Regions from separate parts of the Homo sapiens genome. Here region 1 is linked to region 2. The links are contacts of gene promoters, found by promoter capture Hi-C in blood cells and fetal thymus (Javierre and others, 2016). All regions are on one chromosome and are shown on one strand. Each heading gives the region's core, a stretch centred on a gene start or on the middle of the fragment in contact. The rest is flanking DNA. Distances are from core to core; before and after follow the strand shown. Region 1 has its middle 9.8 kb from the start of TRC-GCA9-3. Region 2 holds the start of ACTR3B (actin related protein 3B).

Evidence for each region. The method cuts DNA at HindIII sites, captures the fragments that hold promoters and counts their contacts. A CHiCAGO score of 5 or more calls a contact.
Region 1: a contact is called between a fragment that was not itself captured here and the fragment with the promoter of ACTR3B in region 2, in 1 of 17 cell types (monocytes). The highest score is 9.1, in monocytes.

The regions. Positions count from the first base shown.
Region 1 is chr7:149,623,726-149,628,034 of GRCh38, forward strand. It overlaps the pseudogene ZNF767P. Among named protein-coding and RNA genes, the nearest start is that of TRC-GCA9-3, 9.8 kb to the right of the region's middle. RefSeq lists silencers at 553-652, 673-1,422. The HindIII fragment of the contact is 2,539 bases long and covers 97-2,635 here.
Region 2 is chr7:152,756,657-152,761,122 of GRCh38, forward strand. It overlaps ACTR3B (actin related protein 3B), which reads left to right and starts at 3,096. Exons shown (of 12, transcript NM_020445.6): 1 at 3,096-3,270. The coding sequence starts at 3,227. It also overlaps the pseudogene RN7SL845P. RefSeq lists enhancers at 2,738-2,897, 3,898-3,947 and silencers at 3,148-3,667, 3,428-3,722. The HindIII fragment of the contact is 7,028 bases long and covers 1-4,175 here.

The DNA.
Region 1 (4,309 bases), core at 116-2,615, 3.1 Mb before region 2:
CGGCTCAAATCACAGAGGCGCAGAGCATCAGGCCAGGAGGGGTGGACAGCGGTACCAAGAGGCCCCCTGACACTCCTTCCCCCGGAGCCCACCGCAAGCTTCCACCTGGGCGCCAACACTCACCCCTTCCTATTTTGCACAATTATTGCCCGCGTACCTGCCTGCCTGGTCCTTGAACACACAGCCACTGTGTGTCTTTTCACACTTCCAGGTGTGCAAGCCTGGGCAAGTTAACTTCTCTAAGCCCCAGGTTTTTCTTTTGCATGACAGAGATAACACCAGTACCCATCCCACAGGCTTGCTGTGAGGACAGAAGGACAGACTAAGGCCTCAACAGGACTTGGTGCAGTACCTGGCTCTATATTCCCTTCCGCGCCGACCCTGGGGAGCTGGGCACGTAAGGGGTGTCGGTATACGCGGATTCGAAGCCTCACAACTCCCAGGTACCACTAAGCCGCTGGGGGGAGCTGGGGGAGGGACCCACAGGCCGAGCGCCAAGCAGAGAAAAGAGCCTCGGGTGGGGGGACGCAGATGTAGGGTTCAGCGGCTGGGGCGGGGGCAGGAAGCCCCGGAGGGGCCAAGGATCTTGGCGTGGGGCGGCCCGGGGCGGGGACAACCGTTCCGCCAGCGCTCGGGCTCGGCCCGGAGTGGGGGGCCCGGCTGGCAAGCGCAGTAGGCCCCGGCAGACGCCGCGGCCCTGTTCCCCGGAGCCCCAGGCGCGGTAGTACGGCTCGGCTCCCGCAGCCCCCGTGTGCCGGGCCCGGGTCGCCCGGGGAATCCAGGCCGCGAGTTCGTGCGCGCGCTGGTCGCCCTTACCGGAGCTGCGGCCGCCTCCTCCATGGCCCTGCGCTGTCCCCCGCGGCCCAGATAAAGTCGTCGCCGCTGCTGCGCGCGGCCCCACGCAGGGCCCGCCTCCCGGTGCTCTCCGCAGGCGGCGCCCGCCCAGCCCTGTCTCTGCCGCCGCTGCTCCCTGACTGCCCCTGCCCTGCGCCGCCCGCAGTTGCGTCAACGCCTTTAGCGCCCGGCCGGTCCGCACTGTATCCTGGGAGCCGGCGCGGCCGACGAAGGCACATGAGGCTTCCTGGAGGCAGGCAGCCGCACAGCCCCACCTGCAGCTCCGGAGGCGAACTGCAGGCGCGACCCCGCCTGGCCCGCGCCCGGGAGCTGACCCCGCGACCCCTGGCCGACCCCTCGCCCCTTCCCCGACTGCCGCGTGTGCGCGCGCAGTCACTGCGCTGGCCCCGCGACCCAGGCCGAGGGACTCGGTTACCGAAAGAGTCCCCCTCATAAGACCCGCCTGGCCGCGCCCGCGGGCAAGCAGGGGCTTCCAGGCAGGGCCCTCCCCGGTGACCGCGGGCAGTGTGGCCCCCTCGCCCAGCTGGGCCCCGGCGCGGCCGAACAGGCACTTCTGCCGCCCGAGGTCCTGGGCCTGGAGGTTTGGGCTGTTTTCGGGGGGCAGCTGTAACTCATCCCCATCTGTGTTTGAAGTGGAATAAATACTTCGAACAATAGGAATATACCGGTAGATGCTACTTAGCATTTTCTACCATGTGTTTATTACAGTAAATATTTTTTAATGGCATGAGCAATGGAACGCAATACCATCATTGAACATTATTTTGGGGAAGAAATTGGTATGGACAGATGTTCATGATATTTTAAGAGAAAAAGCCTGTCCAGAACGATCCTGTCTTTGTTTTAAAATTAACACTTTAAAACAATATATGACATCATATGTAGTATTATATACCGTGTATATGTGTATCTATAGTTTTGAAAGTTTGGAAGCATACAAATGTCAACATAGACTAAGTAGTTTTCTTTAATAGAGCACAGGCCGTTTTTACGCATTTTATTTTCCCAATTCATGTTTTTATTTTTCAATAACAAGGATAGTATTTTTAAACGAGAGAAAAATAAACATTTAAAAGTCCTTAAGAGGCTGAGGATGGAGGGCGCCTTGGACGGGGGCCCCCACGTGGTTACAGAGGCGCATTGCCTTTCAGATTCCTGGGCTGAGTGGGGCTCTTTCCAGCTGGGGAACCTGCGACATGTGATGTGGGGTCTATGGGGCTTGCCAGGCCTAGGGACCGGGATCTGAACATTCTCCCCTAGTTTCTCTTCATCAGCGTGGGCTGTACGTTCAGTGTATAAAAATGGAATTGCCCCAGGAGTCGTGTGGGCGAAGACCTTACTCATAGTGTTGCCGATGCTCCTGCGTCCGACTTGCTTCTTTGGGTCGCAGGCACAACCTAGCTATTCTCTGATGCCTCTCATCTCTGGGCGATTGTCCCTCAAATGAGGGGGTTTAGAGATTTCCTGCCTGGAGCCTTTGGCATCATTTTGTCTTTTGGAGTAAATCCGACAAAGGGTAAAATCACCCTACTCACCCCGTGAGCTGTAGGAGAATGTCCCTGGACCTGCCCCAGGTTTTTCCTGTTTTTTTTTTTTTTTCCCTTCAGCTCTTCCACGTGATTCCTTCCCCTCTCAAGTAACACATCTCCTCTCCTAGGGGTGGACTCGTGTTTTATGGGTCTGCAGCTTGTGTAATCAGGAAGAACATTATTAAGTAAAAGCCTCATAAAATTACAAATTTAGAAGGAGGCACAGAGCTGGTGCAGGAAAGGCACTCTGAAGCTTCCTTAGCTTCACTGTAATGTCCTGGATTAAAAAAAAAAAAAAGCCAGCCTTGTCTAGGCTGGGACATGTGCACCACGGAGATTGTAGGGGGAACTGGGAATCAGGAGACCTGTCAGTTCTGTCATTAACCAGTCGAGACCCTTGGGCAAGTCAGTCAGCCCTTGCCTCACATGTAAAGTGAGGAGATTGGAGTAGATCATTCTGCAAATGTCCCTGAGTCCAGCCTTCCTTTCACCACTTGATACGGGACCCAGTAGAAGACCACCGCTTCCTCTCTCACTGTGGCCTTTTTGCGGGTCACCCTGCATGATAATTTACCTCTATTATCAAGACAACAATGTGTTGGCAAGTCCCTGCCATGTTGCCTGGAAGAGCTACTCCCGGATTACCTTGGAAAAGGGCCTTATTCCTGTTTGAGGAGACAGAGGTGTCATCTCCATGGCAATATGGCCCCTAGGGGAACTAGTGCTTTCATGGTGTGTCCCATGGTGTGTGCTGGAGGATGTGAGCAGTGGGGCAAAGTGCGGTCTGGACTTAAGTGACCATCTGTGTGTCCCTTGAAGGAATTTAACATCATAGAAATCACTGTGGAATTCAGTGTTTCCCAGGTCCTCGGACCAGAAGTGGAGAGGAGTGGCTGGCTTTGCTGCCTTCTGAGAAGGCTGCCAGGGCTACAAGGCAAAAGGCCTGTGGGTAAAGGAGAAAATTCCAGTAGAAGGAAAAGACAGTTCACAGGAAGGGACAGTTTACCAGCTCCTGTGACAAGAGAAGAGGCGGGGCCTTGGCACAGCTGAGGAGGTGAAAACGAGCTTACCCAAGTGTTACTCCACGTGTTCCTTCTAAGAGGGACAGGGCTCTGCTTGCCATCGGAAAGGTCACGTGGGAGGCTGGACGCAGTGGCTCATCCCAGAGCTTTGGGAGGCCAAGGCAGGAGGATCGCTTGAGGCCCCGAGTTTCAGACCAGCCTGGGCAACATAGTGAGACGTCTGCTCTACAAAAAAATAAAAATAAAAAGTATTAACTGGGTATGGTGGCACACACCTGTGGTCCCAGTTAGTTGAGAGGCTGAGGCGGGAGGCTTGCTTGAGCCCAAGAGTTGGAGGCTGCAGTGAGCTATAATTGTTTCACTGCACTCCAGCCTGGGTAACAGTAGAATACCCTGCCGCTTAAAAAACAATGAAAGAGTCAAGTGGGGTTGTTCTCCTGCAACATTTTTTGGTCCTTGAAACTAGGTTAACATTGGTCCTTTTAAGGCTTTTGGGGATTCCAAAATCTACTCAGCTACCACCTTCTCACTATTTCTTGGAGTTGCTTCTTCTCCATCATTCTCCATGTATATTAACTGAAGAAGTAGAGCTGGAAGAATCATCTTTTGTCGTAGATTGCAGTTGTGTTGAAAGTGCCCTGAATGGAATACTGGGCCAGGAGAGCCAGACGCAACTCTGTCATTAAGTGTGTTAGAAAAGACACCTCAGTCACATGGAGTTTCTTTTGTAGGTGCCCACCGTGACAGGCACTAGAGGTTGACTCTGAAGGTCATTCTAGCAGTGCTTTTCCAGGCTGCTGCCCCAACCCAGGGACTCACGGCAGGGAAGACACAGGATCCGGGGTACCTGAGGAGGAGACACTGCCTCTTGTTATGCACAAGGTCAATGAGTTCTCACTCAGG
Region 2 (4,466 bases), core at 1,846-4,345:
AAAAAGAGCTGATTAATGACACAAGAAGAGAAGCAGCTGGGAACTTCCGGAAACATTTCCTCCCACTGCCTTTGAGAAAGGGCATCAGGATGGGGCATTTCTTCCACTGTTTTTGTCCATCATGATTTTGGTGCATGGAGGGGCTGCAGCCGTCTCAACACTGCATGGGATAAGCTGAGGACAAACGACAACACGCAGGGCCCTGGCAGAGCTGAACGTACAGGCCCATGATGATGCCATCGAATGGTCAAATTATCCTGGAGTCACTGGATTTCCTATTGTGCGAGATAACAAATTTGCTCTTTCCTTGTGCCACTTTTAGTTAGGTTTTCTGTTATCTGCCTACAAAACACCTTTGATATATCAAGGGTTAGTGGTATCTAGAGGAAATCACTGAGGTCAGGAAATCTTTTGTTTTCTACCAGCTGCTGACCATGGCCATCAATCCCAATGAGTCCTATGCAGAGAAGATGCTCCCTGAAATCGCACACCCTTTATTACTAGCCAGTCCCAAATTCCTGTAAAGACTTCTTCCCTGGTGTAGTAGCTGGGTCCTATACAAGCCTTGAGGTCTTTCTTCCTGGGCTTTGTGCATGTTTTCCATCCCAGAAACACTCTTCCACCCTACAGTCTCCTCCACCTAGCTACTCTGCCCACCTTCTGGGTTTCAGCTTCAATATCATTGCTTTGAGAAGTTTCTACTGATTCCCAAGTCAGCCCCTCTATGGCTTTCTGGGCACCCTGGACTTGCCCTGTCTTAGCATTGACTACACTGTATTGTAATTGCCTGTTTACTGTTGCTATCTCCCACTGGACTCTTGTGGGCAGATACTCTGAACATCCTGTTTACTGCTGCATGCTCAGTCTAACACAAAGCCTGACTCACAGTAGGCGCTTGATATATGTTTGTTAAGTGAATAAAATAAAAGACATGGCAGTGTCAACAGTCTGTAATTTAGAATTAATCTATGTTTAGGCTAGGGCCGTGAAAAAAATGGGAGCTGGGCTGGGAGCAGTTGTACTTGCCTGTAGTCCCAGATACTCGGGAGGCTGAGGTGGAAGGGTCCCTTGAGCCCAGGAGTTCTGTGCCACCCAGAATGATGGATCTGCACTAAGTTTGGCATCAATATGGCACCCTCCCAGGAGCGGGGAACCACCAGGTTGCCTAAGGAAGGGTGAACTGGCCCAGGTCAGAGATGGAGCCGATCAGAACTCTCATGCAGATCAGTAGTGGGACCATGCCTGTGAATAGTCGCTGCCCTCCAGCCTGGGCAACATAGTGAGACCCTGTCTCTAAGAAACAAGCAATAAGAAAAGAAAAAGAAAAGGGACCAAGGCAGGGCTTTGGCAAAACACAAAGCAAGCCAGCCAATCTTTAACCCCAGCCTTGGGCTTCTAAACTGGGATTCCTCCACACTTACTCCTTTTTATTTTCCTCCCATTTGCTTCTCTCTTCAGTTCTCCTGAACATTCTCTAGGTCTGGGCCTTAATGGGTACTTATGAGTTAAAAAAAAGAAATGATGATGGGTTACCTAGGAGTGGTCAACGTATCTATTACTTCTAGGTAAAAAACACAATGTTTTAAGTACCTGTAAAAACAACATGTCTTGGCTGGGCGTGGTGGCTCATGCCTGTAATCCCAGTACTTTGGGAGGCTGAGGCAGGCAGATCACGAGGTCAGGAGCTCAAGACCAGTCTGGCCAGCATGATGAAACCCTGTCTCTACTAAAAATACAAAAAATTAACCGGGCATGGTAGTGGGTGCCTGTAATCCCAGCTACTTGGGAGGCTGAGGCAGGAGAATTGCTTGAACCTGGGAGGCGGAGTTGCAGTGAGCCGAGATTGCGCCACTGCACTCCAGCCTGGGCGACAGAGTGAGACTCATCTCAAAAAACAAAACAAAACAAAAAAATACATGTTTCCAGAAAGCTCCTAAAAAATTAGTATCAAGAATTTACGATCGGGCAAGAAGCAGGAAGCAAGTGGCAAGTGGGACTCTCAGTACCTTTATAATATAGTAGGTGGTGTTTGCCTTCTTTGGTTTCAGTAAGAACTTTTGGGCGATCATCCCATCTTCGACACTTGAAAACATTTTCCAGGAGTGATCTTGGTGTGGTTTACTCAGTCTAAGGCCATTCATTCCTTAAGGCTGGCCAAGCATTTGTTTTGCAGATTTTTCTTCTTAGAAAAATTTAGGCCGTGTTAGGTATAATAATTCCAACTAATTTTTTTTGTTGTTTTTTTGAGACAGACTCTCGCCCTGTTGTCCAGGCTGGAGTGCAATGGCGCGATCTTGGCTCACTGCAACCTCCGCCTCCCAGGTTCAAGCGATTCTCCTGCCTCAGCCTCCGGAGCAGCTGGGATTACAGGCACCCGCCACCACGCCCGGCTAATTTTTGTATTTTCAGTAGAGAAGGGGTTTCACCATGTTGGCCAGGCTGGTCTGGAACTCCTGACCTTGTGATCCACCCTCAGCCTCCCAAAGTGCTGGGATTACAGGCGTGAGCCACCGCGCCCGGCCAATTCCAACTAATTTTTTTTTTTTTTTTTATTATATGGGGAAGGTTACTCAGTCATTCAACAAACATTTGGGCACTTCCACAGGTACACCAAATACTGTGCTAAGCACCTGCTGCTCATCAATAGTGATTAAGACAGACTCAAGCCCTATCCTAGAAGATTTGATAGTCCAGTAGGGGAGGCAGACAACAAATACATAAATATAAAAATATAAACACTTTGCTTTAAGGGTTAGGAATGAAACCAACAGATTGTTGAGACAGAGGATACAGTACCGGTAGGGGACATAGTCAGGGTGATCAGGAACAACTTCCCTCGCAAGGTGACATTCGAGCGAAGACTTACAGGAGGAGAAAGGCGCCAGGCCTCGGAAATGGGGTCACGTTCATGTAAGTCAGTTAAAAATAAACCCCAATCTCTCCAGCAGCAAGGTTGGACGTATGGGGCCAAGAAGCCTCGCTGCCAGCACTAAAGATGGCGCGCCGGAGTGGGGGTGGGGGTGTTGGGGGAGGCGGGGCGTGCGCGCGTTCTGATTGGCCGACCGGGGAGTGACGTCACGTGTCGGCCGCCGAGCATCCGGGCTCCCGGCAGCGGCGCTGCGGCGGCTCGCGGGAGACGCTGCGCGCGGGGCTAGCGGGCGGCGGAGCGGACGGCGACGGGGCGCTCTCGGGCTGCCGGCGGGGCCGAGCGCCGCGCGTCCCGAGCATGGCAGGCTCCCTGCCTCCCTGCGTGGTGGACTGTGGCACCGGGTAAGAGCAGCTCGGCGCCCACCCCCGCTCCTCCGCGGCCCCGCTCCCGGCCCCTGGCGTCCACCTCGCCTGGAGGTCGAGCTGCGTCCGTCGCCCCGGGCTTGAGCCCCGCGATCACCTGGGCAGGTGGGGCGCCGGCCGCCGCTTCCCTCCAAGCCTTGCCTTGACGTCGTAAAACCCCCTCTTCCCTGCCGGGAAGGGCCACAAGAGGAAAAGCACGGAGGGTAGGGACGCGGTGCCCACTCTGAGCGAGCCCGGCGCTCCTCGCCTCCCCCGCCCACGTGGCCGGGCCCCTGGACCCGCAGCCCGGCTCCGGCCGTCGCCGGGGTGGACACCCTGAGGGACACCGGGAGCGCGGGATCTCCCCTCCTAGGAATATTCGCCAGCGTGAGGCACAGATCATCACTGCAGATCCTTTAACGTCACTCATCTCCTAGTGAACGGTGTCCCTGCCTTCCAGCGTTCTCAGCACTGGCCCTCGTTCTGTCCCCGCGTGTGCGTGTCATTCCTCCTGGCTGAGGATTCTTTACCACCTACTTGTGGAGAGAATAGCATCGATCTCCCAACTTGATACCATTTTTACTGCCCTCCCTGCGCTTTTCCAGTATGAAATGGCACACTCAGGCCAAGCTGTCCCTTTGGTTTGCATAGATTTGCCTTTTCGCTGAAAAATGATGTGTTTAAAAAGACTCCATTTTGAAAAATACCCTAAATTTGGGAGAGCATGTTTGTGGAATTGTGGTAGAGGTTTTTGTTTTTAACTTTTTGAGTGTGACCACTTCTTTCGTTGCCGTTAAGCTATTAAAAAGAGATCTTAGGAAATGCCCTGAAGTATCGGTGACCCAAGTTAGCTGGTTGTAGTAAGGTGATTGCTGAATCCATGTAGCTGGTAGTTTGGGAATACAAGCTTGCCTGCCTGCGTTATGGGTGTAGTGCTTAGTAAAATAGCCTGGAAGTAAATTTGGTCTCTTAGCGATTTTTTTCAAGAAGGGATTTTAATCATTTTTGCCACAAAATGTAACATGGCATGTTCACCTTACCCTTGATTCTTTTCTATAGAAAAATGCACTTGGTTTGGTTTCCTTGACAACCTTGTGGGGGTGCCTTCTTTAGTTTGCTACAGTCCATCTCCTACTGTTAGTTCCTTCCTTTTGCTGCTGAAGCGACCAGAAGTGGTTGTGGACTGGAAAAATCCT